Linked DNA regions of Homo sapiens: region 2 is linked to region 1. The links are contacts of gene promoters, found by promoter capture Hi-C in blood cells and fetal thymus (Javierre and others, 2016). All regions are on one chromosome and are shown on one strand. The core of a region is centred on a gene start or on the middle of the fragment in contact, and the rest is flanking DNA. Distances in the headings are between cores, read along the strand shown. Region 1 holds the start of ASB2 (ankyrin repeat and SOCS box containing 2). Region 2 overlaps UNC79 (unc-79 subunit of NALCN channel complex).

Region 1 (4,449 bases), core at 524-3,023:
ACCTCCGAGAGGGTGTCTTCACCCCTCTGCCTGGTGCTAGATGCTCTGGGGGCCCTGGGTGTTGCTTGCTTGGACTTCCTCACAACATGGCAGCTACAAAGCATCTCATGACCTAGCCTTGGAAGTCTCAGGACATCATTTCCACTGCATTCTATTGTTAAGTCCATCACTAGGCCACCCCATATTCAAGGGGAGGGAAGGAATAGACACATCTTGGATGGAGTTTGGGGTGTGTATGTGTGTGTGTGTGTGTGCATGTGTGCATGCCCATGAGGCAGAGGGCAACCTAGGAGGGGCCTGGCCTGGCCACAGCCCACCTTCCAGGTCAGATTGGGAAGGGGCAGGTGGTGGGCAGGAAGTAGAGGAACCTGTGTTTTGCCTCCAGCAAGGAGCCCAGGAAAGCAGCCCGGCCTCGGGGAGCCGTCCCACAGAGACGTCTCTCGGGGAACATCCTACTGGGTAGCAGAGTCTCCAAAAAGTAAAAAGAATCTGACAGCCCCTTCTCTGCCCTTCTCCTACACTCCCTCCATAGCACATGGGTCTGGAAGGGGCTGAACTTGAGCTAACTTTGAGGGCCACCCAGCCACAGTGGCCTGGGAAGACTGACCCAGCTGGGGTGATGAGCAATTTGGCAGGTACCAGGGAAGCTGGGGGACTGCCTGGGGACCACTGGTGTCCTTCCCATCTTTAGCACCAGTCAGACCTCCAGAACCTTGACTCAACCCCGTGGCACCTTGTATACTGAGATGTATTTCCTTGTGGAATATTCGAAGTGCGTGTAAAGGCATCCTGAGGTTTCCTGAGTTTGAATCAGTGAGAAATCATGCTGTGGCCATCATAAATCCACATCCTCCAAGGGGAATGGGCCACTGAAACAAAAATGATTCTCCCCTTAGAGGAACAGACCAAGTCATGTTTCTGGACCCCTAACTCTGAGGCATGAGATGTGAACACACGGGTGGGAGAGTAGGTGCCTGGCCATGTCCTGTCACATCCCGGATGCTCAGTGCATGTGGCTGTGTATGTGTTGTCTTTGACATTTGACCTATTCCAGAAATGGGACGTTCTTCCCTAGACCAGGAGGAAGGGCTCTCTTCTGTTGTATATCTCTGCCCAGGGCTTGCCCGCATGCCTCTGTGTTTGTTTGTTGGCTCATTTGTACCCTGGCCCTTTGTATCCCCAGCCCCACCCCACAGTATCCAGCAGCCAGACACCTGCTATCCCCAAATGCTGCCACAAGCTCAGCACCAAACCTTGATTTCTCCAAAGCCCTTTTACGTCAACTCCTTCATCTCCTCTCTCCCCTTCTTCCCTTCTCTTTCACTCCATCCTCTTCCTTCCTGCTGTCTTGCCTTCCCTCCTTTGTTGCCTTTACTTCTCCTCTTCCCCTTTCTTCCTCCTCCCTTGCTCCTCACTCTTTGTCTCCCAACTATGCGTCTCCTCGTCCTCGTTCCCTGCCTCTGTCTCTGACCCACTGCATCTCTCTCCTGTCTGGCTCTCCCCTGGGTAGTTCCAGAAACATACCCATATATGGCCTCCATGTCAAGGATCACAAATGATGACATCACGTGAGGGCCAAAGCTCCGGGATCCTCTCTGAAGTGAGAGTCTGTATTCGATGCACCCGGAGGAACGGAAGGCAGGATTGCAGCTTCCTCAGTGCAACCTCCAAACAGGAAATCTGAGATGTATAACATCTTATAGTTTGGCTTGTCAACGTTGGTCATGCGGTGGCCCCAAAATAAACTCCCTGCTTCAAAGGACAGCGTTTCAGAACTGCCTGGCAGAGCAGCCAGAAGCTTGGGGCCAGGGCAGAAGGAAAACTCGGGGAGCATGTTCTGAATTAAGACACTTTCAAGAAAATCCTTTGTATTACCCCTGAATTGTACCCTTGTTTCAGAGCCTAACAGGTAATGCATGCTTTCAACTTTCTTATACAGATCTTGCAAAAGATTCTTTGGCTGGTGGGGATTTTCGGCTGCAGTACTTACTGGAAACCGCTTGTAGTCAAACTGTGATGTTGCTTTTCCCTCTCTCTCGTATTTTCTTGAGTTATACAGCACGCTGGTGACTTTCGTTTTGGATGCAATGAACAGAGACTCAGCAATTTGCATGTACTTACCCATTCTTCTGGAGGACTCTGGCTCAGAATATCACTCTGCTGTGCACTTCTAAAAATGGAAATGCAAAAGGACTTATCAATGATGCTATTGTTGGGTCTGTAGGTCTTGGGCGGTATCTGTGTCAGACAAGTGACTTTCAGAAATGCTTTCAGGCCAGGCGCACAGATAGAGGTTTTCATGAGTGGGAGTTAATTTAATGTAGCTGTTGCAGAGTGCCTAGGCATGCACGGTATTGTGGGAGACCATAGCAGCCAAGGTGCCATGTGCTCTGCTTTCAACTGTTTGGGGATTAGGAGAGGAAATGGAGGAATGTTATTTATGTGAGATCCAACAAAGCTGTGGAATGCAGGGATGCAAGAATACCATGCATGTGTGTGCACACGCATATGCATGACACATTTAAGGAGGCCATGGCCTTTGAAAGGATGGGTGGGATGCCTCAGGGTGGAAACAGAGACCTCCAGGTGGAGGAGCAGCTTGGGCAAAGGCAGGGAAGTCAAGGGACCTGGGGTGATGATGGAAAGTGAAATGTGGCTCTGGCAAAGGGTTCTGCATGTGAAAAATGGGGGTGAGGCTAGAAGGGGAGGCCAGAGGGAGAGGCACATCCTTCCAGGCCAAGCAAGAAGTTGGAACACTTTCTGAGAGTTTTTGAGCAGAGGACGGCATGCACATAGCCACATGCATTGAGCATCTGGGATATGAAGGGACACAGCCAGGCACCTACACTCCCACCCGTGTGTTCACATCTCAGGCCCCAGAGGTGGAGGCCCAGAAACATGACTTGGTTTCTGGTGCCTCTAGGTGGAGAATCATTTTCATTTCAGTGGCCCATTCCCCTTGGAGGATGTGAGATTTGGCTTCGGTGGCTCTTCGGGAAGCCAGGGGTATGCACTGGAATGAGGAGGCAAGGAGGCTGGTGACTCCTAGGGAGGGCAGGTAAATGAGGAAGGCCTGAAGCAGGGCAGAAGCTGAGCCCCTGCACAGGACAGGAATGCTCTTCTGAAGATAAGCTTGTTTCGTGAGGCGAGGGCTTGAGGGGGCTCAGAGGGACGCAGGCAGAGCCAGCTGGGGCCAGCACCCCCGCCACAGCCCTGACCTCTGCCTGGGCAGAAGCACCATGAGGCAGACAGTGGCAGATGCTCGAGGCACTTCCAAAACAGTTGGACGGGTCCTGACAGCTGGTGGCAGGCCCATGTGCTGCACAGCGTCCCCAAGAAGCTGGCAGCAGCTCCGCTGGGTGCCATGCTGGTTTGCATCATCTGTTCTTGCACAAACAGGCCGGGTCATGAGTGCCTTGTGGTGGCGGGGGTGGGGGACACTGTCTAACCCACGCACGGTGACCTCACAGTGAACAACAACACAGGCCATACCAGCAAGCCTTTGTTGAGCACTGGCCCAAGCTTGTGTGCAGATTTCTCTCACTGACTTCGGTCAAGGCTACCATGAGTTACAGGTGATCGTTACTCCCATTTTCAGGTCTGGAAACAGGTTATGAGAGCTTAAAAGTCTTGCTTAAGGCTGGACGGCTGCAAGTGTTGGAGTCAGGAATCTGACCTTTTGGTCTGCAAGGTCCACATTCAAAGCCACAGCGTCCTGTGGCCTCTCAAGGTACTGTGGCAGTGGTAAACAGGACCATCGTGCACCCAGGGGAAATGTCTCTGGCACACTCAAGGCATCATAAGGTGCCCGTATATTGTGGACAGGCTAGATCCAAAGAGCCTTCCCAAAGGAGGCACAAAAATATCTCTGGGCCTGCCCAGTGTCCTTCCATTTCTGCGCTGCAGAGGATCAGGCTGCCCACAGGAGCCAGCTGTCACAGGAGTGGCTTGTGTCTGTGGTTCTCTTTCCTTAGCACCATTGTTTGGAATAATTAACGCCCAGGAATATAAATGAAGTTATTAAGAGCTTTGTGGTTGGGAGGAATGTTTTTGGGGAGGTGGTGCTGAAATAAAGGTAAATTGAAATTCCTAAACTATCTGTTTTTTAAAAAGAATGGGACATAGAGGAGTAAAAAAGGAGAGAGGAAAGCAGAGAAAAGAGAAGAGAAAGATTTAAATGGAGGCGGGGTCAGGGGAACTCAGAGGAGAGAGGATAAAAAAGGAAAAAGAACCTCGCCGATTTGGGTGAGATCTAACTTAAAAGATTTCCAGCCAGCCCTGCAGGTGAGGAGGGGCTATGGAGGATTCCCCCTGCCCTGCCTGAGCCTTCCCGCTCTGCTGCCTGGAGTTAAAGCCTCCAGAACCCCCTGTGTCTTCTGCCACTAAGGAACCAAGGTGAGGGTCCGCCGTCTTTGTCTGCCCAAAGGACAGAACAGGGCTAGGCGGGCT
Region 2 (4,449 bases), core at 1,189-3,688, 330 kb after region 1:
CATGTTCATCAGTGAAATGAAATATTCTACTCAAACCTAATCCCTGTTAACAAGAAGTTTTTAGAAAGAGAGAACCATGAAATGCCAGTGTAGTCTCAGACGTATTCCAGGTCCCACAATGGACTCAGGAAGGTTATGAGATCCTGAGAGAAGAGGTCACATACAAAGGTCACATGCTCACAGAATGACAGTCAAGACTGGAGCCCTGGATGAGGATTACCAGGAAAATCCTCCCAGGAAAGTGTCACTGGCTAAGACAGAGTTGCTCTGAGGAAAAAAAAATTCATATATATATATATATATGCAGTGAGAGAGATGTTCATTCTCATTAGGAGATGTGGGAAGTTTTCTTTGGGCATCTGAGCTGACACTTGTAAAAAGGCTGGACTTTGACAGGTGCAATTTGACCTTCACCCTTCATGTGCACCTCTGCACATCAAAAGTAGGGCCAAATTTATGAGGCCCTGCCCCTTAGACTAAGGTACCAGAAAGGATGCTTCTTGATGTAGTTAGGGGGTAAGTTACCAGAAGGAAAAAAGAGAAAATCAAAGAACGTAAATAGATAAAGAGTAAGAAGTACTGCTTACCTAATTATGCCAATTATTACCTCATTGTGCCACATCTACCCTGAAATGCTGGTTCAAAGTTTTAGGTCAAAAATATTCTTCAGGAAAAAATAACGCCGAACTTACAATAACTTCAGAAAATAGAGAAGGAGAGAACCCTTCCCAATTTGTTTGATGCAGGCAGCATAGCCCTAAAACTAAAATTAATAAAGCCATTATCAAAATAAATTTTAAAAAAGAAGGAAACAGAAAAGAAATGGGAAGAGGACAGACAGACCCATAGTCGTCATGGCCACTGAATCCAGCTATAGATTAAAAGACCAAGTAGGGTCATGACCAAGTAGAGTTTATTCCAAGAGAATAACAATAGTTTAATACTCAAAAATCAGCCAGTATAATTCAATATATTAAGAAATAACGGACAAAAAGCTTATATCTCAATAGATGCAGAAAATACATCTCACAAAAGTCAACACACATCATGACAAAAACTCAGACTGGGCCAGGCACAGTGACTATCGCCTGTAATCCCAGCATTTTGGGAGGCCAAGGCAGGAAGACTGCATGAGCCTAAGAGTTGGAGACCAGCCTGGGAAACAGGGCAAACCCCCCTCATTTCTACAAAAAATACAAAAAACTAGCTGGGCATGGTGGCACACACCTGTAGTCCCAGCTACTCAGGAGGCTGAGGTGGGAGGATCACTTGAGCCAGGGAGGTTGAGACTGACAAGATGGTGCCACTGCACTCCAGCCTGGGTGATAGAGCAAGACCCTGCCTCAACAACAGCAACAGCAACAACAACAAAAACCCTCAAACTGGAAATACCTCAATTTGCTAAAGGGCATCTATAAAAAAACCTATAGCTACTGCGATTAATAGTAAATATTGAATACTTTCCCTGTAAGAGAGGAAACAAGAAAAGGGTGCCGACTCTCCCATCTCTATGATTACACTGGCAGTCTGAGCCATTGCAATAAGGCAATAAAAAGAAACAAAAGGCGGGGTGCGGTGGCTCACGCCTGTAATCCCAGCACTTTGGGAGGCCGAGGTGGGTGGATCACCTGAGGTCAGGAGTTCCAGACCAGCCTGACCAACATAGAGAAACCATGGCCTCTAGTAAAAAAAAAAAAAAAAAAAAAAAAAAAATACAAAATTAGCCAGGTATGGTGGTGCATGCTATAATCCCAGCTACTTGGGAGCCTGAGGCAGGAGAATCCTTTAAACCCAGGAGGCAGAGGTTGCTGTGAGCCGAGATTGCACCACTGCATTCCAGCCTGGGCAACAAGAGCGAAACTCTGTTTCAAAAAAAACAAAAGAAACAAAAGGCATAAAGATCAGAAAGGAAGTAGTAAAACTCTTGCTATTTACAGATGATTTTTCCATACAAAATCAAATCCTAAAGAGATCTACAAAGCAACTACTAGAACTAATAAGTGAATTTAGCTAGAATACATGCTAATATGCAAAAATCAATTGTTATTTAGATATCAGCAACAAAAAGTTGAAATTTTTAAAAATTCCATTTACATTAGTATAAAAAACATAAAATTCTTGAGAATAAATTTAACAAAAATGGCAAGACCTCTACACTGAAAACTAAAAAACATTGCTGAGAGAAATTAAAGATCTCATGAAAATGAGATATATACCATGTTCATGAATTGGAAGATTCAATATTTTCATGCTGTCAGTTACCCCCAAATTGATTTGTTCTTTCAATACAAGCCCAGCAGACTTTTTTGATAAGAATGACAAGCTTATTCCAAAATTTATATGAAAATGTAAAGAATGTAGAGATCCAAACCAATCTTGAAAAAGATAACTAAATTTGGAGGACTAATGCTACCTGACTTTAACACTTACTACTTACTATGAAGGTACTATAATCAAGACAGTGTGGTGCAAACTTAAGAATTAATATATAGATCAATGGAACAGAATAGAGAGCCCAGAAATAGATCCACCCTTCCATGGTTTCTAAGCTTAACAGGCACCACAGTGATCCAATAAGAAAAGAAAATATCTTTTTTAACTGTGCTGAAAAACTGAATATCCACATAGATAAAAATGAACTCCTACTGCTGCCTCACACCATACATAAAAATTAATTTGAGATGGGTTTTATAAATGCCAAATATACATATGAAAACCATAAAGCCTTTATAAGAAAACATTAGAGAATATCTGCATGACTTGGAAGTAAACAAAGGTTTCTTAGACAAATAAAAAGAAGCAATAATTGTAATGTTTTGTTTTAATGCATTAGAATTCACCTAAATTAAACATTTCTCAGCAAAAGATACCACTAAGAAAAGAAATAGGCATGCCCCAGACTGGGTGAAAATATTCTCAAAACATACTTAACAAAGGACTAGTATTCAGTATATATAAAGTCTTACAACTCAGCAATAAAAAGACAACAACCCAATTAAAATATTCAAAAGATTTGACCAGACACTTCTCAAAAGAATATACGCAATGGGTCAATGAGCACTTGAAAAAATGTCATAGAGAAATGCAAGTTAAAACTATAATGAAATACCCATTACACATCCACCAGAATGACCAAAATTAAAAAGACCAACAATGCCAAAGTTGGGCAAGAATATGAAACAACCAGAATACATTGATGATTGGTAATATAAAGTGGCATAACCACTTTAAGAGAAGTTCCAGTAGTTTCTGATAAAATTAAACATATACCTATCCTGTAACCCAACAATATCATCCCTAGGTATTTTACCCAAGAGAAATAAAAACACTTGTTTTAAAAAGGGCTTTTATAAGAATGTTCACAATAGATCTATTTTTTTATACCCCCCAACTGAAAAAACCTAGAAGTCCTTCAATAAGAAAATAAAAAAGCAAATTATGGGATACAATTCAGCCTTGAAAAAGAAACAAACTCCTGATAAAAAAGCAGCAACATGGATAAATCTCAAAAACATCATGCTGAGTAACAGAAGTTGGACACAAAAGAGTGCATACAGTAGGATTCCATTGACATGAAGTCTAGAATGGGCAAAATCAACCCATGTGGAAAAATATCACAACAGTGTTTGCCTCTATGGGGGTAGAGATTAGCTGGAAACGTGCACGAGAGAACTTTCTGGGAATAATGGTAATGTTCTCTATCTTTACAGGGGTTTGGGTTACACAGTCATATGCATTTGACAAAACTCAAGGAATAAACACTTAAGATTTGTGCACTTCCTTGTATGTAAATTTTACAAAAGAAACAACCATCGTCAATGTACAATATGGTGAGTATAGTTAACAACAATGTATCGTATACTTGAAATTTGCTGAGAGAGTAGATTTCAAATGTTTTCACCAAAAAATAAAAAGATAACTATGTGAGGTGATATGTTAATTAGCTTGATTGTGGTAATCATTTCACAATGTACACATCTATCAAAAGATCACATTTATATCTTAAATAGATATAATTTTTATTTCTCAATTATACCTCAATAAAGCTGGAGGAAAAAAGAAACAACTGTATACAAAAATTGAACTTGAGTTAATGCTAACTTTGCTGAAGTATGTAGGGGAAAATATATTCTAATATCTGAAATTTACTCTGAAATACATCCAAAAAAATGAATTGATGGATAGATAGATGGTTGGATGCATGATAAAGAAAATAAAATATTTGTTTTAAAATCTAGGTGATAGGTATATGAGAGTTCACTGTATAATTCTTTCAACTTTGCAGTATGTTTAAAATCTTCCATAAAAAATGTTAAGAAAATAAGTTTTTTAAAAAGCCATTCATCGAATAGAACATAAGAAAGAAAAGCAAACATCCCTAAAATAAATTATAGAAATGCGATGTCAACAATAATATCATCTTATGTTTGTAGGACCTGCTACAGTTAT

The links. Contacts are between HindIII fragments. The CHiCAGO score rates a contact against its expected background, and 5 or more counts as called.
Region 2: a contact is called between a fragment that was not itself captured here and the fragment with the promoter of ASB2 in region 1, in 2 of 17 cell types (endothelial precursors and M2 macrophages). The highest score is 5.9, in endothelial precursors.

Annotation. Positions count from the first base shown.
Region 1 is chr14:93,973,894-93,978,342 of GRCh38, reverse strand. It overlaps ASB2 (ankyrin repeat and SOCS box containing 2), which reads left to right and starts at 1,773. Exons shown (of 10, transcript NM_001202429.2): 1 at 1,773-1,909. It overlaps LOC107984663 (a long non-coding RNA gene), which reads left to right. Exons shown (of 4, transcript XR_001750861.2): 4 at 1-918. RefSeq lists an enhancer at 2,721-3,292. The HindIII fragment of the contact is 23,075 bases long and covers 1-1,800 here.
Region 2 is chr14:93,649,177-93,653,625 of GRCh38, reverse strand. The region is part of intron 38 of UNC79 (unc-79 subunit of NALCN channel complex); the gene reads right to left. Among named protein-coding and RNA genes, the nearest start is that of PRIMA1, 140 kb to the left of the region's middle. The HindIII fragment of the contact is 226 bases long and covers 2,326-2,551 here.